6 separate regions of the Homo sapiens genome follow, and all the other regions are linked to region 1. Evidence: promoter capture Hi-C in human tissues and cell types (Jung and others, 2019). All regions are on one chromosome and are shown on one strand. Each heading gives the region's core, a stretch centred on a gene start or on the middle of the fragment in contact. The rest is flanking DNA. Distances are from core to core; before and after follow the strand shown. Region 1 holds the start of CDH20 (cadherin 20). Region 2 has its middle 230 kb from the start of CDH20. Region 3 overlaps CDH20 (cadherin 20). Region 4 overlaps CDH20 (cadherin 20). Region 5 has its middle 140 kb from the start of CDH20. Region 6 overlaps CDH20 (cadherin 20).

What was found. Contacts are between HindIII fragments. The study calls those that stand out against the background at their distance.
Region 2: a fragment that was not itself captured here is called in contact with the fragment with the promoter of CDH20 in region 1 in 5 of the 25 tissues and cell types used here (H1 embryonic stem cells, aorta, mesenchymal stem cells and 2 more).
Region 3: a contact is called between a fragment that was not itself captured here and the fragment with the promoter of CDH20 in region 1, in 5 of the 25 tissues and cell types used here (hippocampus, liver, lymphoblastoid cells and 2 more).
Region 4: a contact is called between a fragment that was not itself captured here and the fragment with the promoter of CDH20 in region 1, in 5 of the 25 tissues and cell types used here (bladder, dorsolateral prefrontal cortex, hippocampus and 2 more).
Region 5: a contact is called between a fragment that was not itself captured here and the fragment with the promoter of CDH20 in region 1, in 7 of the 25 tissues and cell types used here (H1 embryonic stem cells, adrenal gland, aorta and 4 more).
Region 6: a contact is called between a fragment that was not itself captured here and the fragment with the promoter of CDH20 in region 1, in 4 of the 25 tissues and cell types used here (dorsolateral prefrontal cortex, hippocampus, mesendoderm cells and 1 more).

The regions. Positions count from the first base shown.
Region 1 is chr18:61,330,530-61,335,738 of GRCh38, forward strand. CDH20 (cadherin 20) reads left to right here and starts at 2,901. Exons shown (of 12, transcript NM_031891.4): 1 at 2,901-3,298. The HindIII fragment of the contact is 19,388 bases long and covers 1-5,209 here.
Region 2 is chr18:61,105,587-61,110,795 of GRCh38, forward strand. No RefSeq gene overlaps it. Among named protein-coding and RNA genes, the nearest start is that of CDH20, 230 kb to the right of the region's middle. The HindIII fragment of the contact is 5,995 bases long and covers 29-5,209 here.
Region 3 is chr18:61,531,522-61,536,730 of GRCh38, forward strand. It overlaps CDH20 (cadherin 20), which reads left to right. Exons shown (of 12, transcript NM_031891.4): 8 at 4,972-5,108. Among named protein-coding and RNA genes, the nearest start is that of CDH20, 200 kb to the left of the region's middle. The HindIII fragment of the contact is 5,872 bases long and covers 1-5,209 here.
Region 4 is chr18:61,483,912-61,489,120 of GRCh38, forward strand. All of the region lies in intron 1 of CDH20 (cadherin 20), which reads left to right. Among named protein-coding and RNA genes, the nearest start is that of CDH20, 150 kb to the left of the region's middle. The HindIII fragment of the contact is 7,068 bases long and covers 1-5,209 here.
Region 5 is chr18:61,188,634-61,193,842 of GRCh38, forward strand. No RefSeq gene overlaps it. Among named protein-coding and RNA genes, the nearest start is that of CDH20, 140 kb to the right of the region's middle. The HindIII fragment of the contact is 5,069 bases long and covers 349-5,209 here.
Region 6 is chr18:61,463,651-61,468,859 of GRCh38, forward strand. The region is part of intron 1 of CDH20 (cadherin 20); the gene reads left to right. Among named protein-coding and RNA genes, the nearest start is that of CDH20, 130 kb to the left of the region's middle. The HindIII fragment of the contact is 5,102 bases long and covers 1-4,742 here.

The sequences.
Region 1 (5,209 bases), core at 1,651-4,150:
TTAAATCTGGTAGTCTCACCCATGTTTAAAAAAACAGGAAAAATAAAATTGCTCTTACCTTATTAATAATAGGCCTGGAAAATCTTAAGTAAAAAAACTGCACACTGCGTACCAATGTATTGGGAGATGGAGACATTTGATATCCATGGGAGATTCACAAATAGTTGTGTTTACTGAATATATCAATTTGTATTAGTTGAAGTTCTCCAAAGAAACAGAACCAACTAAAGGTAGGTAGGTAGGCAGGTAGGTAGGTAGATGGGTAGATATAGTATAAGGAATTGACTCATGCAATTAGGGAGGCTGGCAAATCCATAATCTGCAGAGATGATGTCTGAGTTTGAAGGCCATCAGGCCAGAAAATTCTTCCCATCAGGCCAGAAAATTTTACCATCGTAGAAGATAAGACATTTCTCATCCCAAAGGCTTTTCATAAGACCTATAAAAATATGCAAATATCTAGTCCTAAAAACTAGACACAAGCTCTGTGCAGAGAAACAGCACTTTATAATGTGCTGTTTCCTTTCAGTAAATGGAATATAATTTTGGTAAAAAAAAGTTTTCAAACACACGTTTGTAGAAGGTAAAAGAAGACATCTTTCATCCCAAAGACTTCTCATAAGAACCTATAAAAACATGAGAAAAGCCAGCCCTTATCTGAGGGTAGATCAACCTTTTGGTCTATTCAGGCCTTCAACTGATTGGATGAGGCCCACCCACATTACGGAAGGCAATCTCTCTCCCTCATCCAGTCTGCCAATTTAGATGCTAATCTTATCCAAAAAACACTCTCACAAAAACTTCCACGATAATGTTCCACCAGATATCTGAGTACCTTATGGCTCAGTTAAGTTGACCCATAAAATTAACCATCACACTATCCAAAAAAAAAAAAAAAGACTCATGATTTTCTCTAAATTTTGTGTAAGAAATTGATCACCAAAAACAAGTCACTTCAACAAAACACCAAGAAACTGATTTTCTTTTTAGACAAGAAGACAGTTTAAGCTGCTAGAGACCGGAAGGCCCTGGACCACTAATCAGAGTCCTTTGGGTCAAAGTTGATCTCCCCACTTATGAGCTATATGACCTGGACACACTACAGTTGATCCTTGAACAACAAAAGTTTGAACTCTATGAGTCCACTTAGACATGGATTTTCTCCCATCTGTCATCCCTGACAGGGCAAGACCAAGCCTCCCTCTTCCTCCTTCTCCTTCACCTGCTCAACATGAAGCCAACAAGGATGAAGACCTTTATGATGATCCACTTCCACTTAATGAATAGTAAATACATTTCATTTTCCTTATTATTTCCTTAGTATCATTTTCTTTCCTCCAGACTATTGTTAAGAATACAGCATATAAAATGTATAGCATATAAAATATGTGTTAGTCGACTGCTTATGTTATCCATAAAGTTTCCAGACAACAGTAGGCTATTAGTAGTTAAGTTTTTGGAGTGAAAAGTTATATGCGGATTTTTGACTACACGAGGGTCAGTGCTCCTAACCCCCATGTTGTTCAAGGGTCAACTGCCCTTACTTTATTGAGCCACATCTGCATCATCTATTAAAATAGAGAAATAATAGTCTAGACTGAATAGAGTTGTTGGAAAAATGAAATGAAATAACATGTGTAACACATGTCTGTCACATAACAAGTTCTCCATAAACATTAGCTATTCTGCTATTAATAATCATTGTTATAACTATGAGTTCTAATTCTAGGCCTGCTGAAAGCTATTAAAATATGGCATGACTGCCTTAACTGGGATACTATTTCTATTGTCACACACTTGGGAATCTTATTGGATGTTTATATATATCATTTTATCAGTTCTTTACACACATTGATCATTTGGCCACAGAGCAGTTGTACAAATAGATTATTTAGTAACCTATCAATTCAATCAAAATAACTTGCTCTATTACAATCAGTGATGGGGGAGGAAATCCTCCAAGCACCTTGCTTGAAGAGAAATGTAGAAACCACATCGGGCAAAAAGTCCCCCTCCAGCCACTGTGAAACCCAAGTTGTCGTCAGTAACTTGACATTCTAGGGTAGGAATCAGGACAGGAGAGAGGTGATCTCTCCTTTTGACCTTGTGTATTCTGACCTCAGAAATAAGAGCTGGAATTGCCTTCTGGAATGGGCCTGTCACAGTATTGTGTGATTTGGGGGACCCCCTTCATCTGGGAGAGAAGGGTGGTCTCAGCTTCCACCTCAGAAATTTCTGACCCTTAATATACCTCCACCCCATCTCTAGTTAAAGGCTTAAAACTCTAAGATTTTCCTATGAGGACAAAAAGAAAAGGAAATCTGAGCATTTGAAGAAATTCTTAAAAGTCGATGAGTGAGGTTTCCCTCACACATGCCATCTTCCCCTACCTCTCCTCTTGAAAACAATGTCTTTTGCACCCTCAAGGTCAAGGTTAAACCCGAGTTGGTACTCATTTCCTTTCTGATTTTATTTGCCTTATCCTGTTCTACTCCTCAATTGCCTCTTCCAGAATCTGTGCAAAATAATTACCTCAACTTCAGGGGAAAGTTTAGATGTAAATACCCCCGCCCCCCTCCCCACGTCCACACATCCCCTTTCTTCTCTCTCCCTCTTAACATTTCCTTACGCTCTCAGCCAATAGAGGAGTTGAAACATTTAAATGCGGTATCTAAACTGCATTTAAAGAATTAACCCATTTTGCCCCTCACTGGTCTAAACCACAGGGTGCCAACCGGACGTTAATTGCTTTCATCTGGTGGGGTTCCAGACAGCTCCTCAGAAGGAAGGAGCGCACATTCCTGGCACCAATTGGCTAATTCAATTTACTTCAGCGGCATTAGCCTCTGTCAGAATATTCATGAGCAGGGGAATGAGGACCCGCGGTACAGGCAGGCAGCAGCCACTCCTGCTAGGGAAGGCGCGAGGGAGGGGAAGCGGACCGCGCGCCACGCTCGGGGGACGGTGACCGCGACCAGGGGGCTCTTCTCACTGGACAGGCCGAACGCGGTGGCCGCGGGAGGGCAGGGCAGGGCATCGGCGGGGTTGGTGCACTTGGCAGTACCCCCCAACTCCTGGCAACCGCACGGAGACTTTGCGAAACATCCGAAGGCAGAAAAGCTGTGACACTTCTGACAGAGGGGGTAGGGGGGTGGGGGGCGGGGACAGCGCCGCGAGCAGGGGTGAAGAGACCCAGCGGGGCACCAGCCGCCCAGTGGGGGAGGCAGCTACGTGAGCAGAACGCCCGCCCTGGAGCAGTTAGGACCGAAGGTCTCCGGAGAGTCGCCGGCGGTGCCAGGTAACGCAGAGGGCTCGGGTCGGGCCCCGCTTCTGGGGCTTGGGACTCCGGGCGCGCGGAGCCAGCCCTCTGGGGCGAAATCCCCGGGCGGCGTGCGCGGTCCCTCTCCGCGCTGTGCTCTCCCAGCAACTCCCTGCCACCTCGACGAGCCTACCGGCCGCTCCGAGTTCGACTTCCTCGGACTTAGTGGGAGAAGGGGTTGGAAATGGGCTGCCGGGACTGGGGGAGCTGCTCTCTGGAAGCAGGGAAGCTGGGGCGCACCGGGGCAGGTGGAGGACGTGGCGCGCTGGGAGCGGGGACTGCGCGCGCCTGGGGATGGTGACTGGGGATCCAGGAGCGCGGCTTGTGGGGGCGCTTGGCACGGCTTCACCCTCGCTGGCCCCGCAGGCGGTGGCGCCTCCCTCCGCCTGCAGAGGGGACAGGGTGGCCGCGTCCCTCGCACAGAGATGTGCGCCGGGAAGGGGACCAGAGAGCCAGGCTCCGGGGAGGCGCAGGCACCTACGGGGCCGATCCCTGGTCCGTGCCTCGCGCCGCGCCCCCGCCGGAGCTCGGCTGTGGGAGGAGAATGTGGTGGGTACTCGAGTCCCCGCCACCTGCCGGACTTCGCCAACTCCCCGGATTTCCTGTCCTCGGGCCCTGACACTCCCAAGGAAAGCTCTGAATTGCGCTCGCTGTTTGGTTTTTGCTTGTTGTAGTTACTCTGGGGGAAGAGCCGGGGGCAAGGGGGTCAAATGGGGCTAAAGTTTCAGATTTGCAAAGAGAACGTTACCGAGGACTCTCAACGTGTCCTTAGCAATCGGAGAGACTGCAGCAGCCTTTGCCTAGCTATCCGCCTCTGGGGCAGCAGTGGGGGCTGAAATCTGGAAGGCAGCCCGGAGGCAGCGTCAGAGCCTTGTTTTGTTTTGTTTGTTTCTGCCGAGACCAGGCTGGAAGTGAGAGGGGATAGTACCAGACAATCGGGGAGTTGGTCGCCTGGTAGATTCAGAGTTTACTATGTTGTTGCTATTATTATTAATGCTCTTGTTATTGGCACGAGCACCAGGAACAATTTTTTTTCTGATTGTTATAAATCGCCTGCAAATTGAACCTGCAGCCGCCTCCCCTCAAATGAAATGTCCCCGGACCTCCTCCAGTCTCTGATGTGTGTCTTTCCACCAAAGGAAATTACCCACTCAGAGCTGTGGTGCTGTCAGGGACTCAGCTAAGGAATTGGATCTACCTAAGAACAACAAAAAGTTGAAACTAGGATGAGTTTGAACCCACGCTTATAGATGAGTATTATGTTCCTATCTGCTCACCTTCCTCAGCCGCCTCTGGCTGGGGAACCCTGAAGGCATAGCCATCTTGAGAGTTGACCCAGCGTTTCCCTTTCATTTATTTATATAACCTGGGAAAATCTTTTCCCTTTAGTGTCACCCTTGCAGTCTCGTTGGACATGCTGAAAGGATTCAGGTCCTGACACTGGAGGAATCCGTAAGGGCACCTGTGGTTGCCAACTCTTGGCTTGACCCTGTTCAGATGTTGCCCAGGGTGCAGGCTTGGGCAGCTGATGCAGCAGAAAGCTGGGCGAGGGTGTGGGAGAACAGTATGGCAGAGTTAAGCTGAGTGCAGGAGATGAGGTCAAGCCTCCACGCTGGCCACATCCCTTCCTGCCAGAGAAAAAAGAGACAAATGAAGAGCAGGAGGGAAGTGTTATAAATTGGAACCGAGCTCTTAGAGTCTACTTAGGCTGTGAACCAAGCTCTCAGCATCTACTGAGGCTCTGGCCATTGACTTTGGCGTGACCTTTCTTTTCAGTGCTTCTGATTTTCGCTCTCTGCAGATACTCAAGTAACTGTGCCTTTCTAACAGGACAGTTGTCGTGAGATGATCTAATTTTGTATCCAAAAAAATACTTTGAGCATCCTGGGA
Region 2 (5,209 bases), core at 1,776-4,275, 220 kb before region 1:
TCTTCTACAGCCTCCTCATCTCTCCAGCCTTCATAGAATTGAAGAGAGTTAGGGTCTTGCTCTGGATTAGGCTGTGGCTTAAGGGAATGTTGTGGCTGGTTTTACCTTCTATCCAGATAACTAAAATTTTATTCATATCAGCAATCAGGCTGTTTAGCTTTCTTATCATTTGTATGTTTAGTGGAGTAACACTTTTAATTTCCTGCAGGAACTTTTCTTTTGCAGTCAAAAGAAAAACTTGGGTAACTGGCACAAGAGGCCTAGCTTTTCGCCCATTTCAGCTTTCAACATGCCTTCTTCACAAAGCTTAATTATTTCCAGCTTTCGATTTAAAATGAGAGACATGTGACTCTTCTTTTCACTTGAACACCTAGAGGCCAGTGTAGGGTTATTAACTGGCCTAATTTCAACATTGTTGTGTCTCAGGGAATTGTGAGGCTTGAGAAGAGAGAGACAGGAACAGCTGGTCAATGGAGTAATCAGAACATAAACAACATTTATTGATGAAGCTTGCCAACTTCTATGGGCACAGTTCATGGCCCTCTGAACAATTACATTAGTAACCTCAAAGATCACTGATCACAGATCACCATAACAGATATAGTAAGAATAAAAACAAATTTAAATATTATGAGAATTACCAAAATGTGATACAGAGACACAAAGTGAGTACATGCTATTGGAAAATGTTGCCAATAGACTTGCTTCATGCAGGATTGCTGCAAACCTTCAACTTGTAAAACGTGCAATATCTGTGAAGTGAAATAAAATGAGGTGTGCCTATATTTTAAACAGAAAACATAACAAAACATAACAGAAATAAAATATGAATATCATCTTGACCAATATGAGGGAGCTTACCTCACAGATAAATATTAAAAATCTTTCTCTTTATCACAAAGCTAAAGACAAGTCTATGCTTATTACAGGAAACATGTATAAAACCAAACTATTTAGAAAGTTTAAAAATGCAAATATGGGCAAAAGTAGACCAGAACATACAACCAAAAAGGAAGCAGAGACTGCAAAGTTAGTATCAGACAAAGCGGTATTCAGGGTTCAAAAGCATTAACAGCGACAAATAAGGACACTTCAAAATGCTAAGGGAGGCAAATAATAATGAAAGCATAAAACTTTTATTATCAGACACCAAATACCAGTAGCAAATTTCATCAAAGAGCAATTACAGTTGATACTGTGAGAATTAGAAATACCTTTTTAAAAGAACACTTTACTTCTCTAATCAAGACAGATCAAGAAGACAGAAATATATATATATAAAATATTTAAACTACATGTTATAATCAACCAGATGATTTTTATGTAGCAAACTTTATGCTTTCAAGTTATAGAAAACACTTCTTTTCAAGTGTACATACAAAAGAAGAAAATTGACAATATACTAAGCCAGAAAGGAAAAGGAAACCACAAACAAACAAAAACTAACAAATATATATATTTTAAAAAGCAAACCTTTTAAAAAGTCTCAAGTCAGGAGAAAATACCAACTGAAGTTACAGAAACAACTGCAATAAAAGCAATATATATCAGAACTTACGAAATATAACTAAAGCAAGTCCTACAGGAAACATTTTTAAAGAAGAAATGAAAATAAATGCAGTAAGCATCTGGCTCAGAGTCAGAAAATAGAAACATAATACAAACACACCAAAAAACAAAAGGCAAATGAAGAAATTAGGGTACATTCATAAATTGATGACATAGCATAAATGAATGAATGAATGAATGGTGTTTTTGAAAATGATCCATAGATTTGTCACTACCTAATTTATTCAAGAGAAAAAATAAAAGAGCAAGAGAAAGTAATCATAAGAACAGAAATGTTTAAAATTATAAGACTACTTCAGATGACTCTAGGCAACTTAATGTAAAGGCCTATATAAATTGAATAGTTTTCTAGGAGAATATGATTCAGTGAAACTTAGTGTGTTATACTTTCTTTAGCACAGAAGAAATTAAGAGCTAACACTAACAAAGCACCAAGCTAGGAGATCTCACTGGGTAGTTTCAATAGAAATTAGACAGTAAATAATTCCAGTGCTCCATAACTGGGTTCAGGACTCAGAAAGAAAGAAAACATCCCAATTGTTTTTTAAAATGAATATAATATTGATAATAAAAGCCAACAAATATTTCATTTAAAAAGACAACTATAGATTAACCTCACTTACGAATATTAACATTAAAAAAATCCTGAGTATATCAAGCCAAAGTCAACATCAACTTAACAGGTAACAACTCACTGGAGTTTATTCTAAAAATATGTGAATAAACTTGGTATCAGGCAGTTATAGTCAATTATATTAATAGATCAGAGAAACTTTCCTGAGGGGGAAATTCTCATGATCATCTCCCTCTAGATACAAAAAAAAAAGACATTTGACAAAATTTGGCAGATTATTTATTAACAGGATAAATACACATATCACTTTTTCATCACAACTATTTAACATTCTACTGGAGATATTTACCAATGCTTTTAACAAGAAAATTAATTTTACTCAAGAATTTTTCTTATTCCCCAACCCTTCCAATACACAATCAATCCTATCATCTTTGTAGAAAGATGAAATCCCACACAGTGAGTAAAAGTAGTAAGATAGATAATAAAGTACAAAATTAATTTAAAGAACAAAATAAGATATAATTAAAAAGGAAGATAAAATAGAAGATCTCATTACAATAAAAATTTTAACTCCAGTAAATATACTTAACAAGGAAGATTCAAGACAATATTTTTGAAAATAGCTCAAATTCTCATGATGGATACGGAAGTGAAATTAAACAACTAGAAGTAAAATTACTATTTATTTAAGACTCAATATCTTACATAAGTCAATTTAAGTTCAGTGTGAACCCAGTGAAAATACCAAAAGGTTTTTGTCCATCTGCAACTACATAATTCAATTCAAAGTTTACATGCACCACCTAAAAAGCAAGAATAGCCAGAAAATCTTTAAAAAAATAAGAGATATAAGAGTCACTGGCATTGCTAGATATTAAAATACAAATTTTGATAGTAAAAACTATGTTACTGTTACATGAATAGACTGACCAATGGAAAAGAATGAAAAGTTGAGAAATAAACCCAAATATATTTATATAACAATTATCAAATTAGTACATAAGGATATATATATTTAAAAATTATGTTGACAAAACTGGGTGGCCATCTGGAAACATACACACTTGAAACCACACTTCATACCACAATAAACCAAGATCAAAGATTTCAGTGTTAGTGTAATATTATTAAAGTATTAGAAAAAAATGTCTATTAGAAAAAAAAGTTGAGTCATCATTTCATGATCTTGAAGAAAGAAGACCACCCTGTTGTTTACAATGTAGAGCTATGAAAGAAAAGATAGAAAATTTTAGATATATAGAAATCAAAAAGTTCTGTGGTTAAAAAAAAAATTTAAGGAGTAAATTAAAAAGCAAATGTCAAACATTGAAAGATGATTAGCAAGCTGGGAAAATATATTTGCAACTCCTATCAGATATGAGATTAGAACTTTTAATAACTACAAACCTCATAAAAAATTAACAAGAAAAAAATCCAGAAATTTAATATAAAAAGTGTTCAAGGATATGAATACAGCTCATCCTCCAAACAGAAGTTAAAATGGCCTGTAAACATATGAAAGGATACTCAACCTCACTCATAGTAATAGAAATGTAAATCATAACTAATAGTAGATCTTATTTTTTCATCTTTCAAATTGGCAGAACTGCAAATTGAACAAGCAAATATTAGCAAATCTAGATTTCTTCATAAACTGCTCATAATAACACAAAATTATATCAGACTTATGTAGAAAATTTTGGCAATATTTATCAAAATTAAATATCTGGAAATATAAAAACAGCAATTTTATATTAGGTTGTTATATATATTACCAACATTCCATCATTTTTATCCAAAACTGGTAATATTTTAACCTTATAAGAGCAAAAGACTGGAAACAATGTAAATGTTTACGTATAGGGCATTTGTTATAATATATCCTTTCAATAGAATACAGTTGTAATTAAGAATCAGAAAGCTATTTAGTATATATATATATTTAGTATATATTTTTTTCATAAAAAGCAAAGAAAACATGGCACAATTTTAAACATTTGAGTGTAGAGAAGGTATAATTCATTTTATGTTGGTATGAGACAAAAATGGAGAAAGAAGAAAGAATAATTCCTCCAACTGCAAAATATGAAGATATTTCTAAAATTTCATGTAACAAAAAATAGTTTTTAGTCTCTTATTTTAAGTTACAAAAGTAACTAAGAGAAAGACTAAAAATTGTATAAATCTGAAACATTGATGAGGGGTAAAGAAAGCAATAGTACAATGGATCTGCATCTGAACTTTTCATTTTAGAGTTGCTTAGATATTATCTAGTGTTTCTAAGTCTTAAAAAAGAGGAGAATAAGACTGATTTCAACCATGGGAATAAGCACCAAAAGAATGTGCCCCTGAACAAAGAGTGCTGAGGAAAGCAGAGTTAGCACTTCCATGTTACTTGATTCACCGGCTATTTTGATAAAAATGTTTTTAACAAAAGTTAATGAGTACAGGCAAAGATTAAAAGATTATAAGATTCAGAAGGCAGGAGCTATATGTGATTTTGTTTACCACAGTTTCTATCATCCAATGTCTGCTATGTAGTAGATCTTAGTAAATAAGATATAAAGAGCTCTTAGAAGTCTCTAAGGAGTGGTCTCACCTAGAAAAGTTGGTAAAGCACATAAATAGTTCAGAAAATAATTACAGGTAGCCAATAAACATATTTAATGTCCAACCTCACTAGTAATGCAAGTTAAACCCACAGTGAGCTATCCCTTTCCCCAAATGAAATTGGAAGTATTTTACAGTAGCACATGTACATATAGAAGCTGTGGTGAGGCATAACTCACACATAAGTAATTTAAGTATAAATTGGTTAACAAAAAAAAGAAAGAGAAAGCTTTCTGATAAACAATCAGAATTAGCAACAATCTTTACATCTTAATGCTTTGATGCAATATCCTTATTTATGGAAATCAATTCTAATGAAATAATCTGATATACAACAAAATATTAATATATAGGGAGTGTTTCACAGCCCTATTTAACACAATGAAATTGTCATGAATCTAAGTAGTTAACAATAATATTTAGATTAATTATGTATACCCAAATGAGAGAATA
Region 3 (5,209 bases), core at 1,237-3,736, 200 kb after region 1:
AAACTTTAAAAGTAAATAACAATTTATGCTTAAAAAGTAATAATCTAGTCCATTTTAAATGAACTCTGAAGCATGTGTTTTTCTTTATTAAAAAGGCAACTATTCGCTGTCACTCTGATGTGATCTGGCTCTGTGTCCCCACCCAAATCTCACCTTGAATTGTAATAATCTCCATGTGTCAAGGGCGGGACCAGGTAGAGATAACTGAATCATGGGGGTGGTTTCCCCCATGCTGTTCTCATGATAGTGAGTGAGTTCTCACGAGATCTGATGGTTTTAAAAGGGGCTTCCCCCTTCCCTTGGCACTTATTCTCTCTCCTACCACCATGTGAAGGACATGTTTGCGTCCCTTTCCACTACGATTGTAAGTGTGCTGAGGCCTTCCCAGCCATGCTGAACTGTGAGTCAAACAAACCTCTTTCCCTATAAATACCCTGTCTTGGGTATGTCTTTATTAGCAGTGTGAGAACGGACTAATACTCGTATCTTTAAAAGATAAAGTCTTGTTTCCTTAGACAATCTCTTATAGACTATGTGTCAATAAGGCAGCATGGCCTGGTGGCTGGGAGCAGAACCTGCAGCCAGACTGCCTGGGCTTGATTCCCAGCAATGTGACCTTGGGCAAGGGACCTAACCTGTCTACTCCTCAGACTTCTTACCTGTAAAATAAGGATCATAATTGTGCCTACCTCATGGTGTTATTGTAAAGATTAAATGAGTCCATATAGGTGATGTGTGCTGAGCAGTGCCTGGCTTACAGTGAATGTTCATTAAATAGGGTCACAGGCAGAGAGAAACATTAATTTTCTTCCTTAAATTTCCTAACTCTTAGGGAGTCATAACTTAAATGATTCTGATTTCTCTAGCTCTTACTCATCAGCTTTCTCTTTAATTCCTAATTCCTAAATAGCCATCCTGAATCTCTGCAGAAAAAAAATATACATTGTATTTGATACAATACATTTTACCAACGATATATATGCACAACTGTATACATGTGTGTATTGTATGTATATATATATATATATATATATACACACACACACACATATATATAAAAAACAAAAGCTTTACATCAATATTTACCCTTACTGCATGTGATAGTTTGGCATGCATATATTCTATTCTATTTCATTTTCTTTCTATGCTAATCATAACCCACCAAATTGATTTCACAATCCACTAAGCTACATCTGAAAAACAATGCACTATAGTAAAGAAAATGTTTATTCCCTCCAAAATTGCTGCTTCTCCGTCTCTACAACGTTAAGATATGGATTACAGTTGCTGGCAACTTTAAATCAAATTTTGAACCCAATATATTTCCCAGTCCCTATTTAAATAATTTTTAAGAACATAGTAGTTATAATTTTGTATATATAGCTTCAAATCAAACACAGTAGTTATAACTCCATAAAGATGGCTTCAAGTCTTACCTCTTAAATTATTACCTGTGTAATTGCATAAAAGTGACTTCAGCTAGTTGCAGTGGCTTATGCCTGTAATCCCCACTACTTGGGAGATTGAGGCAGGAAAATCACTTGAGGGTAGGAGTTTGAGGAGTTTGAGGCCAGCCTGGGCAACACAGGCTGTTTAAAAGACTTTGTCTTTTAAAATAAAAAATAAAAAAAATTTAATTATCCAGGTGGGGTGGTACCTGCCTCTAGTTCCAACTACTCAGGAGGCTGAGGCGGAAGGATCACTGGAGCCGAGGAGTTTGAGGCTGCAGTGAGTTTGGTCATGCCACTGCACCACTCCAGCCTGGATGACAGAAAGAGAACCCATTTCTAAAGAAAGAAAAAAAAGTGACTTATTTAAGCCTCAGTTTCCTTATCTGTTGATTGGGATAATAACTACCTCCCAGAGATGTTGGAAAAATTTTAAAAGAAGCTGTGTATTAAGTACATAGTAAAGTGCCTGATATTCAGCAAATGGCAGCTATTGTAATTACTGGTCTTTTAAAAACAGGATTGTTTTCTTGTTATTGAGTTATTTATATATTTTGGATATTAGCCCCTTATTTTATGAAAAGAATATTTTCTCCCAATCTGTGGGTTGTCTCTTCACTCTGTTGTTTCCTTTGTTGTGCAGAAGTTTTTAGTTTGATACAATCCCATTCATCTATTTTTGCTTTTGCATGTGCTTTTGGGGTCATATCCAAGAAATCATTGCCCAGACCAACATTGTGGAGCTTTTCCCCTAAGGTTTCTTCTAGTAGTTTGATGGTTTCAGGTCTTAACATTTAAGTCTTTAATCCATTTTAAGTTGATTCTTGTATAAGGGGTCAGATAAGGGTCCATTTCCATTCTTCTGCATGTGGGTATCTAGTTTTCTCAACACTATATTGGAGAGACTGTCCTTTCCCCATTATGTGTTCTTGGAATCTTTGTCAAAAATCAGTTAATTCACTGTAGACCCATGAGTTTTTTTCTCAGCTCTCTATCCTATTTAGTTGGTTGATGTGTCTGTTTTAATTCCAGCTGTTATAATTACTATAGCTTTGTAATATTATTTCAAAATTAGGACAAATGACCCTGTTAAAAAAAATGTGCAAAATGCCTAAACAGACATTTCTCAAAAGAAGACATACAAATGACCAACATACATGAAAAAATGCTCAACATCCCTAATCATCAGGAAAATGCTAATTAAAACCACAATGAGATATCACCTCACAACGTTAGAACGTCTGTTGTCAAAAACATGAAACGTAAGTGTTGGCTGGGGTGTGTAGAAAAAGGGAACCCTTGCACACCGTTGATGAGAATGTTAGTACAGCCATTGTAGAAAACAGTATGGAGGTTCCTCAAAAAACTAAAAAGAGAATTACCATATGATCCAACAATCCCATTTCTGGGTATATATCCAAAGGAACTGGAATTAATATGTCAAAGAATGTCTCTACTTTCATATTCACTGCAGCATTATTCACAATAGCCAAGATACAGAAACAACCTTAGTGCCCATCAACAGATGAATGGGTAAAAATAATGTGGCATACATACACAATGGAATATTCGTTTCAGCCTTAAATATTCAATACAGCTTTAGAAAAGAAAGAAATTCTGTCATTTGCAACATGGATGAATCTAGACGACATTATGCTAAATTAGCCAAGCACAGAAAGACAAATACCACATGATCTCAGTTATATGTAGAATGTAAGAAAGTCAAACTCATAGAAGTAGAGAGTACAATAGTGATTGCCAGAGGCTGGTGGGTAAAAAGGAAAAAGAATCAAAAAGTTCAAAGCTTCAGTAAGGGGTAGTAAGTTCCTGTGATCTATTGCACAGCATGGTAACTGTAGTTCATAATAATGTATTGTATATTTCAAAATAGCTAAAAGAATAGATTTTAAATGGTATCATTGCAAAAAACAAATACATATGTGAGGTAATAGACATGTTAATTAGCCTGATTTGATCATTCTATGATGTATACATATATCTAAATACCACATTGTACGCCATAAATATATATAATTATTACTTGTCAATTAAAAAAATAAAAATGGCTGGACACGGTGGCTCACACCTGTAATCCCGGCACTTTGGGAGGCTGAGGCAGGTGGATCACTTGAGGTCAGGAGTTTGAGACCCGACTGGCCAACGTGGCAAAACCTTGTCTCTACTAAAAATATAAAAATCAGCCAGGGATGGTGGCAGGCACCTGTAATCCCAGTTACTTGGGAGGCTGCGGCAGGAGAATCACTTGAACCCAGGAGGCAGAGGCTACAGTGAGCTGACATCATGCCACTGCACTCCAGCCTGGGCAAGACAGCAAGACTCCACCTCAGAAAAAAAAAAGAATTAAAAAATAAAAATGATAAAAATTACTTGGCCTTTACCAAGGACTACATAAGGTTCTCATTGATGGTTCTCAATCATGGCTACATATCAAAATCCCTTATGGAGGGTTTTTAACATCCACATGCCTGAGCCTCCATCCATATTTATTGAGTCTTCCAAGATGGGGACCAGACGAGATAACACAGGTGAGATAACACAACAGAATTGGATTGCCAAATCAGGTTCAACAGGAAATATAGATCCTACCCAGGAGCTAGTTAACTAATGGCTCAAATGATACAGACAACAGCAAAACATGAGTCATTCTCCCCTTGGAGAGCTCTGAAACTGTCAGGCACAGGTGCCTATAAATGTCCTTTTCTTGCATAAAGATGCATGTTGGTCCAGACTGAACATGAAAAGTAGAAGCAATGGACGAAGTGCATTGCTCGAACGCAAAGATCCATTTTTGTGATGGAACATTTGCTTGTTATACATCATTAATTACATAGCTTATATGACATTTTCCAGTAGGCTGTACCCCACAAATTTATAAACTCTAGGTTTATTTACAGTAAACAACCTAGCCAGATCCGGTCCATCCTGCTAAAAGCATACCACAGTTAAGGACTCTCCAGCTAGCAAATACATTACCATTATTGTATTTGCCAGAAGGTGGGTCATTAGCATGTTAAGAAAGGGCCTGGTACAAGGCTTCTTTTCTCAATAGTTGATACAAATTATAAGGACTGGAACCACTAAACTACACCTTTTCTCCTTTTCTAGTTTCAGATTAGCATTTGAGAACTCATTTGAATACAATTCTTTTTAAACAAATATATACAGGACTCGATACTCAGGATGTCCCAAAATTCTTGGGGTAATTCCAAGCATTACGTAGCATAAACCATATTTAAATAGCTTACAACTTCCCCAAGACTGTCGGCACCCTGTTTATTTCATTTTTTGAATGAGAAAATTGAAGCAATATTTGTTTTGTTTATTGGAGGAGGAGGTGACTTTTGTTTCTGAACAAATAAAACCACGAATGCAGTCTTCCAGTAGCCATAACTCAGAAGTGGTGGAACCATGTTTCATATGGTAGGCACTCAGTTGTCTCATGTGGTATGCTGTCATATGCTTACCCAAATGCAAATGATGTACGTAATCCATGTTTCTGCAGATACTCCATTGATAGAAGCAGTGACCCTGGAAGATTTTTCTATGTTGACATTACAACAGGTGCCCTAATGACAGCAAGACCCCTAGACCGGGAAGAATTTTCTTGGCATAATATCACTGTCCTTGCTATGGAAATGAGTAAGTAGCACAGTAAGTTGGTCTCCATGCAGTGACAAAATATAGGTGTTATAGAAAGTGGAAGTTTCTAGAACTTGTTGTAACAAAAATTATATCCTTTA
Region 4 (5,209 bases), core at 1,236-3,735, 150 kb after region 1:
CTGGCTTTCCAATCCATTTTTTGATTAAACATATTGATACTCAAGATTTAAGTCTTACGTTTAGGTAGCAAACTTACCTTTGCCAAAAAATCTTCTTCCTGTGAATTATTTTTTATGGGTCAAGGAAAACTGCAGGATTTTCCTAACTTCCTAAAATGCTGTACAAAGGCAAAGTCATAAGAGAAAACACTGAGTAGCAATTACTTGCAACTTCTTAACAAAGAAGAATGTTAGCCACATAATTTCATTTTAAATACATGCTTTTTATAAAGAATGAGCACAGATTTAATGCAATTATAAATGTCACATAAAACAGGAAATTAGTAGGCATGTGGAACAAGTCTCAGAAATCAAAATTGATCATTCTTGTCTAACTGTAGTCAGAGAAATTGCCCATAGACTGGGCTGTAGTTTCATTAGCTTGATTAAAAGTGAAAACTGGAGGAAGGGTAAAGTAGGTCAAAAACTTCCTGACTCCTTGAGGATTAAAACATTTACTAGATACTAAGTATGGGTGAAAGGATCAGTAACAATCTATTCGCCAGCCTTGGCGGATACGGAAAGAAAGACAGGGCACCCTGGACTGCAAAAATTGATTATAGCAAGAATGAAAAGCACAGAGGAATTGGGCATGAACTCTAGAGCAAGGATTTCTAAAGTGAAAATGCCTTTATTTATGACCCAAGCTAGGGAATTCATAGCTAGAGGGTCAGCATGTATACAGGTAACATATGGCAAGTTTTATTATGGGACTGACCAAGTTTTTCAAAGCCAGGGCTCTTAATTATATAATTCAAGCTTTCTACCAATTTTTTTTGCTCTACTCCACACACACACACACACACACACACACACACACACACACACACACACACATCCCTACCATTATACAAAACTAGATATTGCTCCTAAACTGCAATTAAGCTACTGTTTACCTTCCCCTTACCCACATCCACCCCATAGTTCCATTTATGAGCTCCCAGTCTCATTTACAAAACAGCACTCTCGCATAAACTGGTTGGGTGGTGGGAAGGAGAGGGAAAATAAGTAGGAGTGGTGGGAAAGAGAAGATTTCAGAGAACTGACAATGGCCTGAGTGAACATGATAACAGCTGAACTTTTAGCCTCAGGAGTGCCACCATTTTTGAGGAACTTGATGGAGAAGGAATTCATAGAAAGATAAATAATGAGAATTAGAATAAGCAAGAGTGGTGACCACCTTTTCCAAGAAATCTCCAAGGAAATTAAGCATTCCTTTTCTTCTTCTGTTCAATTTCTTAAAAAGGTAATACTGTAATTCTTCGATTCTCCATACACCATCAATGTATTAACAGCTTCTCTGAGGAGTGAGGAAAGCCTACTATGAGAACATTAAATATGTAAACATTGATTTTTAAGATATATCTCATTTCAGAAATGTTAAGTTGGGAGGAGGGGTGTGGTGAAGCAGGTGAGAGTTAGGTAGGGGAGTGGAAGTGAGAGTACAACTCAAAATTCAGCAAATCTAGTGCCTGGACTACCTCTTCTGACCCTGTTGGGAGTTGGTTGCCTCCACAGATGGGTGGCTTTGGGTAGGCTGGTGAGTTGATGACCACAAAAGAGCCATGGAGCTTCCACTCACCTAATGACTGTCCCAGAAGAAACTGGGATGGATAGAACCTCTGTAGTAAATGAAAATTAAGCTATCACTTTTACTTATAGAAAGAGCCTCAAAAATGCACTTAGAAGAGAGCCTTTATGGAGATCTTAGATATTACAAGAAAACATGACAGTATATCATAAGGTGCATCAACATTAAATCAGAATACAGCTCAATGTCATAGTGCTATTCCACCTCCCAGTCAAGGTTCTCTCTCGAGAAATAGAAAAAAACCCATTTTGGCCAGGTGCGGTGGCTCACGCCTGTAATCCCAGCACTTTGGGAGGCCGAGGTGGGCGGATCACGAGGTCAGGAGATCGAGACCATCCTGGCTAACATGGTGAAACCCGGTCTCTACTAAAAATACAAAAAATTAGCCGGGTGTGGTGGCGGGCACCTGCAGTCCCAGCTACTCGGGAGGCTGAGGCAGGAGAATGGCGTGAACCCGGGAGGCGGAGCTTGTAGTGAGCTGAGACTGCGCCACTGCAGTCCAGCCTGGGCGACAGAGCGAGACTCCATCTCAAAAAAAAAATAAAATAAATAAACAAACCCATTTTACTTAGGAGTTAAAATCCTTCTGTATAGAGTACAGAAGAAATAAGAACTTAGTAAATGAAAACAACTTCTGGTCAGAGAACTGTGTCCCCTTTCAGCATATAAAACCATACTATCCACCCTGTCCAAGACAGATCCCTAGTGATGGACTTTGGTCAGTAGCAGAAACATACACAAACAAATCCAGAAATGTTGAAAGTTTATTTAGAGGAGCACTCGAACTATTTTCTTTATGGGATTCTACAATGGGAATATTATTGTTTGTGAACCATACATACTGAAATACACGAACAACTTTTTACTCCAATTTATACTGGTGACCACCTGTGTCATTCTCTGGGGTTTTGTACTCTATACAAAAGGATTTTAACTCCTAAGTAAAATGGGTTTGTTGCTATTTCTCAAGAGAGAAACTTGATTGGGAGGTGGAATAGCATTATGACATTAAGTTGCATTCTGATTTAATGTTGATGCACCTTATGGTACACTGTCATGTTTCATTGTACTATCTAAGATCTCCATAAAGTCTCTCTTTTAAGTGCATTTTTGAGACTCTTTCTATAAGCAAAAATGATAGCTTAAGAAGTTTGGCTCTTAAAACCATGACACCACTGTCTGCATTTACCTCTCTTAAAGGCATTAGGCCACATCAGAACCTTAAAACACCCCATCTTCTTAAACAAAGTCACGGAGTCGACTGACTGCTTCTATAGAGATGTCATTTGAGCTTTGCTAAGCAGTAGTTCCATTAACCATGAAAAGCTCAGGAAAACTGGAATAATGAGGAAAGAAATCAGAGCAAGACCATAAAAGCCCAGTTCATTTCAAGGAGAAAGCAGTAACCATCCCTCCCCACTACATTTTAAATATCACAACGAATTTACGTAACAAACTAAACAATTCACTGAAAGCACACTTTATGTACAACTTTAATTTCTTCCTACTGTGTTCATTACCAAGCTGTTTTCTTTCTTTAGGGAGGATGAAGGGGAAACTTTTAAAAGACTCATTTAACACAGAAGTCAATTTCCACTAATGTATTCTTCATGTGGCATATGTAGTCTTCCAAAGCAGATCTATATATACAAATACACATGTATCAGTATCTTCTTTTATAAGAACAACAGCAATTAGCCCACCCCAAACACATTATTGCTATTCATATCCTCTAGGGAAAAACATGAATATGAGAACCACCTCATTTATAATAAATGCAAACTGATTAGTATTTCTGATAGAACTGTTTTGTAAAAAACACCTCTAATTGTGAAAAGAATAATGCGACTATTGTATAACCCAGCTTTTACCTTCTAGAAAGTTAGGCAGGGAGTCTTTTTCATGCATTCATCCCTAAGGAAGTAGAAATAAAGTGCTTTGCACCAACTGTTGCTATCAAGTTATATAAGACAGAAAGAGTTGGTACGACATTGCGGTCTTTGTGATTTGGGGTGTGTAAAGGTACCATCAGCTTTCACAGAATCACCAAGGGCTCCCCCGGTCAAGATCCCAAAGTCACCTTTGTACGTGTTCAGTGGAGGGGAGGAAAATAAGAATTTGCACTAGTGTGTAGGAGGCCAAAGTAGAAAAGAGGGAGAGATGAAAACAGGCAACCTGACCGCCTACAAAATATTCATCACAGATTTCAAAGAAGGCTTTTCTCCTTGAGCTCTTCAGATCATGCCTCAGGTAGGGGGATAGGGGGTTTTAATTGGGAGGAACACATGCCTAGTTAGAAATGGGGAATATAAAAAACACTACTTACAATTCCTCAAATCTCATTCTGTACATAAAATGTAGCCAGTGGAAGCAGAAGAGGAGACATCTGCACATAGCACACATGCATGCACAGGCACTCTTAGATTCAAAGCAAGTTGCTACAACCAGCCAGAGAAAATAACAGACATGTGTGCTTAGGCAAAATATAGGTAAGAAACAAAGACATTAAGGGGAATACACTAAATAGAATACGTACATACATATATATATATATGTACGTATATATGTATGTATAGTGAGTTCTAGCTTTAATCAACGCAATCCGCAAAATAATTTTCTTTACTATTGAAGAGTTTTCTAATAGCTAGCCCTTGATTAAATCTCCTCAAATGGAACGCAAGTGTTTGGTTATTACAGAATTAGACTGAGCCAGAATCTGCTACCAGACGGGACTTATCACAGATGTAGAGATCTGAAAAATAACAGATATATATTATAAGCCCTTTCAGAATTCTGGCCCCAAAGGTATCCATAAAATATATATTTCTGGCTTAGCTCCATGATTTTTACATATGACCCAGGTACTTTATCTGACTGTTCAAATGTCGGTTGGCACCTTAGTCATTTACAGGGCACTTTTTTGCCTGCATGATCCCATCAGACTCTTGTGATGGTCCAGTGAGGTAGGTGGGAGAATTATTGGCCCTGCTTAATAGATGAGGAAACTGAAATTCATACAACTAAATAAGTCAGAGGTAATGAAGATAGAACCAGTAACCAAACTGTCTCTTAGTCTAATGCACTTTGAGGAATTATAGATACATTGTGTCTTACAATATACAGAATATTGCTTTTATGGTTTACTAATCACAGCATTCTGGCAGTGGCTTTTTTTTTGTTTGTTTGTTTGTTTGTTTTGGCAATGCCCTTTAGTCTGCCTTCTAGGCCCCTAAAACAGCACAGCTATTTCTCACTAATCTTTGTCATCAATTCGTTTCCTGGGTTAAATTCCTTCTTCCCAAACACCTCCCTGTAGACAGGGATCAGAGAAACATGAACTGGGCTTCTCTGTTCCCTAAGGGAAGATGTCCACCAGTCCAAAGAGAGAGAGAACAGCTAATATTTGGTAACCCACCTGCTAGCAGCACCATTGTTCTTTATTAGCAAACCCATTGCCCTCAATGAGGTGCACCTGGCTTGCTTTTTCTTAACACTCAATCTGCCTTCAGAGCTGGAGCTCATAAGAGGCACAGCCTCCCATTCTGCTACAAAAATTCTATAGTCTCCTCAGCTACTTTC
Region 5 (5,209 bases), core at 1,633-4,132, 140 kb before region 1:
GTTGTTGTTGTTTCAGCATCAAGAAATTCCAAACATTTGTTGCCTTAAAGTCCATTTTGGACTATGAGCTGTAACAAATAAATTAACAATAAATAAGTGAGGAAAATCCCCTTTATAACAAAAGCTCCCTACGACTGACATTCTGGATTTCCAAATTTGGCTTCTCATAATAAATGCTGAAAAACATGCCTGCCCCACACCCCTGGCTAAAGGTCAGCAAAACAGAAAAGATAATCCAACACAGTAAAGACCATGCCAGTCAGGAAGTCCAAATATATGCACAATGGAACTTTGCTCATTTTGATGTGAGACCTTTCTGGCCTTTCAATATTTTAACTTGCCATCCTTCCCAAGACTGGATTCTTTCTCACTGCATGTGGGATGTTACCCAGCAGATATACAGGTGCTCCTTCAGAGTCTGTTCTGGCTCAGAAGATGGATTCCCATCCCTGCCAACTTGAGTGTTTTTTTCAGTGCAAGAGCCATGTTCCCTGCATGTAGAACATTAAATATGAAATGTATAGCTGTTCCTGTAGTGTGAAGTTCCCAAGAGTGTCTGCTTCTCAAATTGTAGTCCTCAGTGCCTGTCTTCACCATACCCTACAAATTATGGCAGACATTAGAGTCCCTGACTCTCCTATTAACAAACTCTTCTACAAATAATCCCCATGGGGACTGTGCAGAGGGCACACAGGCACAATGACCCTGTGCATTGCCACTCGTGTCTTTGACCCAAACACCAATGGGCTTAGCAAGCTTAATTGGACTATGAGTGGACCACAAGAATTTCTTGACCCATCAAGTTTAAAGCCTAGAGGAGAAATAGGCCAAGTAATCACTTCAACCCTCTCCCACTAGATCTCGTGGGCGTAGCTAGCCTTCTGGATCCAATTATTCTGACAATGAGAGAGATATACCAGTGTAGAGCCAAAATTATTATAAATGAATCAAATTAGGCAGTTATTTGGAGCCTCACCATGAAAGAATAAAGCTAGATTTCAGATCTAGAGTAAAATAACTACCAACATCTTCAATAACGCAGATTGTCATCCCTGAACATGTTTTTACTCCACTCCTCAAGTGGAGTTTATGTTAATTATGCAATAAATATGCATACTTGCTGCAAATTGAGGGTTGAAATGGATTTGAGACCTTACCAAATAAAACAGGCCAAATAAAAACATTCTGTATACTACGTAAAATATAAAATGTGCAATAATACAGGAAACAATTAAAAAATTAAATTTTCACTTTTGTGAAAGTTGGTATCTAACTAACATTTAGCCCAACTGAACCCTGTTTTCGTTTGGAATTCCATGTTGCTTCAATTAGCAGAAAACCCAGCTAATCGTTGCTTACAGATAAATAATTTTATTGGTCTCACATAACAAAAAGTGAAAGAGGAGGAGGCCCAGCATTGCACAGCTCTTCTAGAATGTTCTGCTATCACATGCTCATTCTTCTTTTTGCTTAGCTGTCATCATCAGTACCTGGCTTTCACCCATGGGTGACAGAGGGCTAATGTATTCCTTGGCATAGTGTCTATGTTGCAGGGGGATGGGGGAGACAGGTAAAGATCTGTGGGTAGAGAAGAACACCAACAGGGTCTGTTCCTTTTTAAAAATTTAACCTAAGCACCACCCAGCAGCCTCTGCTTCCATCTCCCTGGTCAGAACTGGGTCAACTAACTGCTCAGGGCTGGAGGAAAATGAGGAGTTAACTGTGTTTAGCTTTCTTGTCATTAGCAGAGGAAGGCACGAAGTAAAGGGTTTATGAATAGCTTTAGCCAAACTGCAAACTTCAATCAACCACTTAGAGCTCAGATATTCACTGACGAAGCACAAGTATCTCTCTCTGTCACACACACACACACACACACACACACAGACACAAACACACAGCTTTTCTATTTGTAACGATCATCAGAATTCAGTGACCAAGATTTACTAGTCGAGTATAAAAAGTCAGTTACCACTGGCTGATAAATGATAAATATAAAGTGAGTCTATGAGAAACAGGCAACATGACAGAGGCAGAAAATTCCAATTACCTCACATACAAGAAATGAAAACTTTGAAATAATGTACTTGCATTCCTTGCATCTAGAGGCTGACTATGCCTAATATCTCTGATACCTGTGGTATGGAAAAGAAAATTCCCAAACTGTGGGGTTCAATGATGCCAGTAATCTTCCAAAAAGTAAACTTGGGAACCACTATAGGGTTGCCACCTGTTGATTTTGCCAAGATAGGACATACTACCTTCTATCACCATAATCACATAAAGAAAAGGCCAATTTGACTGACACTGCGTTGTTCTTATTTTTTCCTATTTCTCACAGTACTGGAAAGAAATGTGTAAATGACTGGCCTAGGATCTAATTGCTTTAAGTTTCTCTCCCACATTCTGCCTTCTTTCTTATACACACCAAACTGGTGCCCACTAGTTTTTTGAAGGCCAGAGGTTCACTACATTGTAGGCTCTTTTAAAAGACAAGCATTCCAAGGGTTTCAAGAAAGAAAAATAATATTTTAAGGCACTTTATATCATAGAGATTTTATTTTTTATTATTAGAGCCTTCCTTTGTCAACCAGGCTGAAGTGCAATGGTGCGATCATAGCTCACAGCAGCCTCATACTCCTGGGCTCAAGCGATCCTCCTGCCCCAGCCTCCCAAGTAGCTGAAACTACAAATATGAGCCACCACCCTCTGCTATTTTTTTTTTTTTTTGTAGGTATGGGGTTTCATTGTGTTGCATAGGCTGGTTTCAAACTCCTGGCCTCATGCAATCCTCCTGTCTTAGCCTCCCAAAGTGCTGAGATTACAAGTGTGAGCCACTGAGCCCAGCCTCAAAGAGATTTTTAAGCTTTTGGCCTCACTCTCAGTTCTACCTCTGATCCATCATCAGCCATCTATCTAAAAAGTAAAGTAGAGGGACTAAGCCACAGTCCCCATAGTGTTGGTCTGGAAATAGATACTATATTATTCAAATTAGTACTGCTGTAGGGCAATGTCTCATCAAAATTGTTCTGCAGTGTTTGATGGATCCATTGAGGTTCCTGAAAGATTTCTGTGCCAAATAGAGTAAAGTTAACACTTAATAGCAGGTCTGCCCCTCTGGTACCTCCACCTTCAACCACATCAGGATGGCTTTGTCTCTTTTATCAGTTAATATTCCTCATAAGATTTTGTTTGTAAAGATGGTTTTACTGTTGTAAAATAACAACAATAATAATTCTGAAAAACAATCATATAAAGTTCCTCAATCAGTCACTATTTTCTCCTGATGTGAATTGAATACAACTCTGTGTATCATTTTACGCTTAAATGAAATTTTGTTTTTTATTTTGGATTCAGAGGGTTCATGTGCAAGGTTGTTACATGGATATACTTAATGATGCTGGTGTTTGGGGTATGGATGGTCCTGTCACTGAGGTGTTGAGCATAGTACCCTATAGGTAGTTTTTCAGCCCATGCCCCCCTCCTCCCCCCCCAACTAGAGTGGTCCCCAGTGTCTATTGTTTGCAGCTTTATGTCTGTGTGCATTCAATGTTTAGCTCCCACTTATGAGTAAGAACAAATTTATGGCTAAGTCCCCAAAAGCAATTGCAAGAAAAACAAAAATTGATGAGCGGTACCTAATTAAATTAAAAAGCTTTTGCAAAGCAAAAGAAATTCAACAGGGTAAACAGATAACTAAGAGTCGGGGAAAAATTCGCAAACTATGCATCTGACACAGGTCTAACATCCAGAATCTACGAGGAACTTAAACAAATCAACAAGCAAAAAACAAATAATCCAAATAAAAAATGGACAAAGGACATGAACAGTCACTTCTCAAAAGAAGATGTACAAATGGACAACAAACATGAAAAATTGTTCAACGTCAGTAATCACCATAGAAATGCACATTAGAATCACAATTAGACAACATCTCACACTAGTCAGAATGGCTATTATTAAAAAGGCAGACGCTGATGAGGCTGTGGAGAAAAGACAATGCTTACACACTGTTGGTGAGAATGCAAATCAGTTTAGCCACTGTGGAAAGCAATTTGGAGATTTCTCAGAGAATTTAGAACAGAGCTTCCATTTGACCCAGCAATCCTATTACTGAGTATATACCCAAGTGAAAATAAATAATTCAACCAAAAAGACACATGCACTCATATGTTCATTGCAGCACTATTCACAATAGCAAATACATGAAATCAAACTAAGCATTCATTAATGGTGGATTGGATAAAGAAAATGTGATACATACCTGCCATAGAATACTATGCAGCCTTAAAAAAGGAAGAAAATTATGTCCTTTGCAGCAATGTGGATGCAGCTAGAGGCCAATATCCTAAGCATATTAATGCAAGAGCAGAAAATTAAATGAATTTTTAAACATAGAATTATAAAGCCACATTTTGAAAATCTTACACATTAAAAACAAATTTTTTACAATAAAAATGAGAGTATTTGTCACATAAATGTAGAAATTTCTAATAAAGACAAAAAACACTCAGAATTTGTTTTCTCACAAGAAAATATTTTATATCTTAAAGCAAGGAAAAATTAAGGCTCTATACACAGAAGAAATAAGTTCTATTGTTCAATAGCACAGCAGGGCAATTATAGTTAACAACAATGTATTTTACAATTCAAGGTGGCTAGAAGAGATTTGAAATGTTCCCAACACAAAGAAATGCTAAATGCTTGAGGTCATGGATATCCTAATTATCCTGACTTGATCATTATACATTCTACGCATGTATCAAAATATCACATATACCCCATCAATATGTATAAATACTATGTATCAATTAAATATCTTATACATTTTTGGGGTAAAATAAAAATCTGTCTCTGAGTAGACAGAGCTAATGTAACAACAATTTAGCTACATGGTTGAAAATTTGCCCAATGTATGGTGAAAACGTAGGAGCATAAGGCCAATGGGAAGAGACAAAGACATAAAATTGTTGGTGACACCCTCCGGCATCACACCTATATGTCCTTCAGCTACTGGCCACGCCTACTCTTCCACATTGCTTCCATTCTCTTCAAGGGCCATGACTACTCAACGTCTTAACTTGCTTGTTTAGTCATCCTTATCATTCATCTCCCTGTAACCCAAATTTGAATCTCCTTGTGTGTTTCCTCCTGAATGGTATCCTGGTGCCCACACTAGACACATGAAAACCTCAATTTCTCAAATTCT
Region 6 (5,209 bases), core at 942-3,441, 130 kb after region 1:
GTCTCCTGTTCACATTCTCCTCAAAAACCATTGACTTACTCTGAGTTCTGCTTCCTGGTTTTCAAGCAGAAATCCCATCTGAAGGTAGGTTCGGTCAACTCCCAACTCTGGGCACTGTGTCCTCACTCTGTCCAGGGGTGACGAAGATTCCAGGGCTCAGGAAGCACACATTCCTAAACCAAGGAGATGTGACAGATGCCTGGACCAATGGGAAAATATGTGCCCCTGACAAGGAAAAGAGAATTCTGCATCTTTAGAAGGGCCCAGAAGTATCATTTCTCCCTCCTCTGCCCACACCGAGCCTGGAAACACCTTGTTAGCTATCCATTAAATGAGATAACATATGTAAAGCACCCAGCATGGAGCCCGGCAGATATTAGGGATTCAATAAATATTAGTTACCTTCCCTATTAAAAGTAACACCAGCTACAGTGTTTATGTGATTCGCTTGCTATTATTACTATATAGCACAGTAAGAAGTGTGTGCATAATTAAATATGTACCACTATGGTAATTCTGTTTTAAAATTTTATTGATAACATCATTATATGCTTTATGTAAGCTCAGAGTTTTTGTGCTTATCTGGCATGTTTATGCTTCTAACTTTCAAAAAAAATCAAGGTCACAGCTGAGGGAAAAAGAGTTTGGTGGTTTAGCAAGGTGTTAAAAAAAAAAAAGTTAACATATTGCACAATTCTTATTATTTTTCCTGTCCAAACCTAGTCTCACCCCTTCCCACTGATTTCTCCACCAACCCACTGTCCTCTCGGCCCATCACACAACACTCCCTCCCTTTGTCTCCATTAAAAAAATTGGTAGATAAGCTAAAAAACTTCACATGTCACTGCTAGCAAAGACCAGGCTATGTCCAGGAATATCCCCTCCCATCTGTTTTCTGGATGCTTTGATTCACTGCACTGGTCAACTTAGAGTATGGGAACCCCAGCAGGGTAGAGCTTGCTGCAGGAGCTGACAGTTCCCTGCCAAAACTATCCTCACTACAGAATCACTGATCAAAACACTGGCTAGAAGTGAATGTGGGCTGTGACTCAAAGCCACAGGGGACTGAAAGCAACCACACCCATTTATCAATATCTAGGACTAGGAGGAAACATTAGCATCACAGTGAATAATAGCCAGACCTCTCAGACTTGAAAGCAGACATTAATGAACCAAGCCCAGAGCTGACGTTGAAGTCAAGGTTGTGGCAAAACCAGTTAGAATCCTCCATCATGGTCTAGATGTGAATGATTAGTACTAAAATAAAATGTAGGAAGCCACTGGACATATTTAGAAAATCCTCAACAGGGTCTGTCAATGTTTAACAATAATCTTGACTCATAACTTCAGGAAATGACACTATCCACAAATGGAATCAATCATTTCAAAATAAGCCTTGTAATATCAAACAACTTCAGCTCCCAAGTAAACCCTCAGGAGTATTTTAAACATGCTCTTCACAGAGCTCACTAGAAATAAACCAGTTGGCCTGGCTGCCCAAGAATATGCCCTAGATATTGTTTTCAATTGAAATTGAAAATAGGGTCACTGTCTGCAGGAACTGGAACACCTTACTTTCTACACATATACCCCTACAGCTGCTAAAAAGAAAACCAAAAAAAAGCAAAGAACAGCACCAAATCTATTAACTCTAGTCATTCTCCAGCCCCCTAGCCTCTCTCAATCATAACTTTGGATCTGATAGTTACAATTGTCATTTTTTACAAAGAATGGCATGTTGGCTCATCTTCTAACTGCATGGACCTTTTGCTAGTAGCACACATACTTCCCATTGTACTAAATAAAATAAAATAGAAGTAGCAATAAGAATCTCAGAGTTTTTAGAGTTACCAGATTTGCAAAACTGAATTGACACTTTGATCTCCAAAACATTTTTAAATTTTGATAGCTTGGAAATAAATTAACTCTCAGAAAGAATTACATGGGGAAAAAAAAAAAAAGAACTACGTGGGTTGGAATTTTGTTTTCAAATCAAGTGAATTGTAATGGTCCATTTTGAAAATTAACATTGAAATGAAGCAAGAAGGTCAACAGCATAGAGGATCAAAGCATCCAGAAAACACAGGGAAAGGAATATTTATGCATTTCTAATTCTATTTCTAATTCTACAGAGAAACTTAGTGACCCACCAAGATATGGAATCTGCTCTGGGAAGGAGGTATACTAGTCACATAAACAATATAAGGCTCCGACCTGGGCAACCTGGAGGAACCATGTCTCTAAAAAAAAAATTTACAAATTAGCCAGGCATGGTGATATAGGCCCGTAGTCTCAGCTACTCAAGAGGCTGAGGTGGGAGGATGACTTGAGCCCAGGTGGTTGAGGCTGCAGTGAGCCATGATTGTGCCACTGCACTCCAGCCTAGGCAATAAGGCAAGACCTTGTCACTTAAATATATATATTTTCTCATTAAGCTATATATATATATATATAGCTATTTATATATATAGCTTAATGAAGACATATTTCTCAAGAGAAGCAAATAGCTTCTTTTTACTGTGTGAATAGTAACATTACTTTTTTTGAAATAAATGGTAATTTACAAAAGGTAAATAATTCCAATAGTGATTCTCTATTCACCGTTTTACAAACAATTCCTGTTAGTATAGTTGTACTTACAACATTTACAATAGAAACTTACTATTTTACAAACATTTACAATAACTTACAACATTTACAATAGAAACTTACTATTTTACTTAAATGCTATATCATACTGCATTTCTTTAAAAATGAGTATTCAAAAATCCTTTCATGACATGATGTTCTAGTCACGCAGAGTTACGGGACATGCAGCTCATGATGTCACCACCATTTCTTCAAGGGCCGTCTTGTTACGACTTTACCTTCCACAGTTCACCTAATTAATAAAGGTGTTCGAAACAATCTAGGGGACAGAGAAGAGGATTAAGTCCATGGAAATCTCTCAATGGTTTTTCCTTGGATCCACAACTTGAGGCCAGCTTCCCATGAGGTATCTATCTAGGGACTAACCTAGTAAAGTTTTGGGAACTCCTCCTAGTAAAGTTTAGGTCTGAGGGAAACAACATTCCCTCAAGATGGCTTTAAGGCAAAGAAAGAAATTAGCGCACAACTACAGAGGTAACTCAGAATCCACACACAGGAGTTTGGGCTCAGCCTCCAGAGGGACTGAAACAAGGAGCAAGAGCCTGCCCTCTTCCCATGCCCTCCCCGCCTCCCTCTTCTCTGTCCCACTTCCTCTGCTCTGCTTCTGCAGGGCACAGCGCCCCAGCCATCCTTGCAGGTTCCCTTCCATACTCCCAGCAAACAATGTGCTTGGCCTGGCTTGGCTCAGTGTCCATCCTGTTCCAGTTTCAGCCTGGGGGATGGGCAAGTTCTTTGTTACAAACAAGGCTGCAGGGGCCAGTCCTTTAAGGATGGAAGGTCAGTTCTAAGACAGAAATATGCTAGACAGACACTCCTAAAGGTGTCTGGTACCATCTCTAATGACAGTATATATATATATAATGATCAGCTGCCACTGGGGAGACATATTGCCATGATATCCCCTCAGATTTTCTCATTAGAATCATGTGCAAATTGTAGTATTGGAAAATCAGTTTCCTATTCTCTCTGTATTTGGAGAGGCTTGTGAGGCCTAATTTGCCTTCTTCTCCGCTTGAGAATCTGACAATTTCCACATCATCACAATGAAGAAACATATTTATGGTGTTTGGGGTTTTTTTCCCCAAAAGTCAGGTATAGAGTGTCTTTTTGACAAGCCAGTTACAATTTTATGTCTCATTACTAACAAGCTTCCATTTCTCACTATCCATCAAATACAGAGTTTGCAACTTCAATCACTTTGAGGAACCACCACTCCTGGCCAATAACTACCATGAAATCCCAAGTTAGAAAAATTCACTCCCTCCCTCCAAAAATAATGAAGGAAAAGATCCAAACAATTATGAGGAAAGATGAACATGATAGTTTATGCCATAGGGATATTTTCTTCTCTACTTTTGGAAAGACAAACTTTTACTGAGCATCTCTTATGTTCTACACACGGGGCCTTCCTGTGGCACACAAGAGGATTTCATGCTTATAGCAACCCTGCAATTCTATGCATTGGAAACCGTCTGGGCCTCAGAAATATTAAATCATTTGCCAAAAAACACAGAAGTAGAATCTAAAGCTGATTCTGCCTGACCCCAAGGCTTACGTTCGCTTACTAGTACTAATAACTAGTATCTATTGAGCATTTGCTGTGTGCGAAGGCTCTGCCCCATTACCTCACATATAGTGACTTATGTAGTAGACATAGGAACTACTATTAGCTTCGTTTTACAGGTGTGGACTCGGATGCACAAAGAGGTTAAGTACTTGCCCAAGTTTACACATCCTGTACACAGTGGAGCAGAGGTTAGAACCCAGGCAATGCAGCCATACTTCCCATCAAGTTGTCTCCCCTGGAGAATGTGATTCTGTACATATCACGGGTCCCTTTGTGATTACTCTCAAGTTAATAGGCCTCAACTGTATCTGCAAGAGCAGCCGTGATCCAATCACCAGCGTCAAAATGAAATTAAGTCAAAATTGCATGGTTTGCCTTTCACTGCATGTGTGGAGAACAGAAATGACAATCTTGATAGCCAAGATTCTCAAATCCTTATTTCTCCCTAAAACAAGTATTTTTCTTTATGGCCCCAAAAGATTCAAGACATCAAGATACGCTAAGGATGTTCTGAGTGAAGGAAATCCCTTTTCATTTCTGTCTGTAGGGATGTGTAGGTGTGTGAGTGTGTGTGTTTGGGGAGGGGAAGGACATACTGCTAAAGAATAATGGTAAATCTTTTCTAAGAATATTCTTTTTCTTATCTCTCCTAAGCATATTTAATGCTGAGAGACTTTTAATGCACTGTGTTTCTCTAGTATCCCTTTTTCCCCCCTACTTGCTCCACTAAGTGTCTTCCAATTTCAAGTCACTACAGTGCAACTGGCTTAGATAATGTACTGTCATCCATACCTCATATATCGTGTCCAGGGAACTCGCCTTACTGTAAGCATCGCTTCCATTGCAGCAAGCTGGCTATGGGCCATGACCTGTGGGGGCCCCAGTGCCCATTTATTGTAAACTATGGATTGTGGGTGATGCTAATGAAGTTCCTCAAAAAGCCACATTTGTATGACTTTACATTTTGCTGTGTTTCCTTAAAAATTGCCAGTA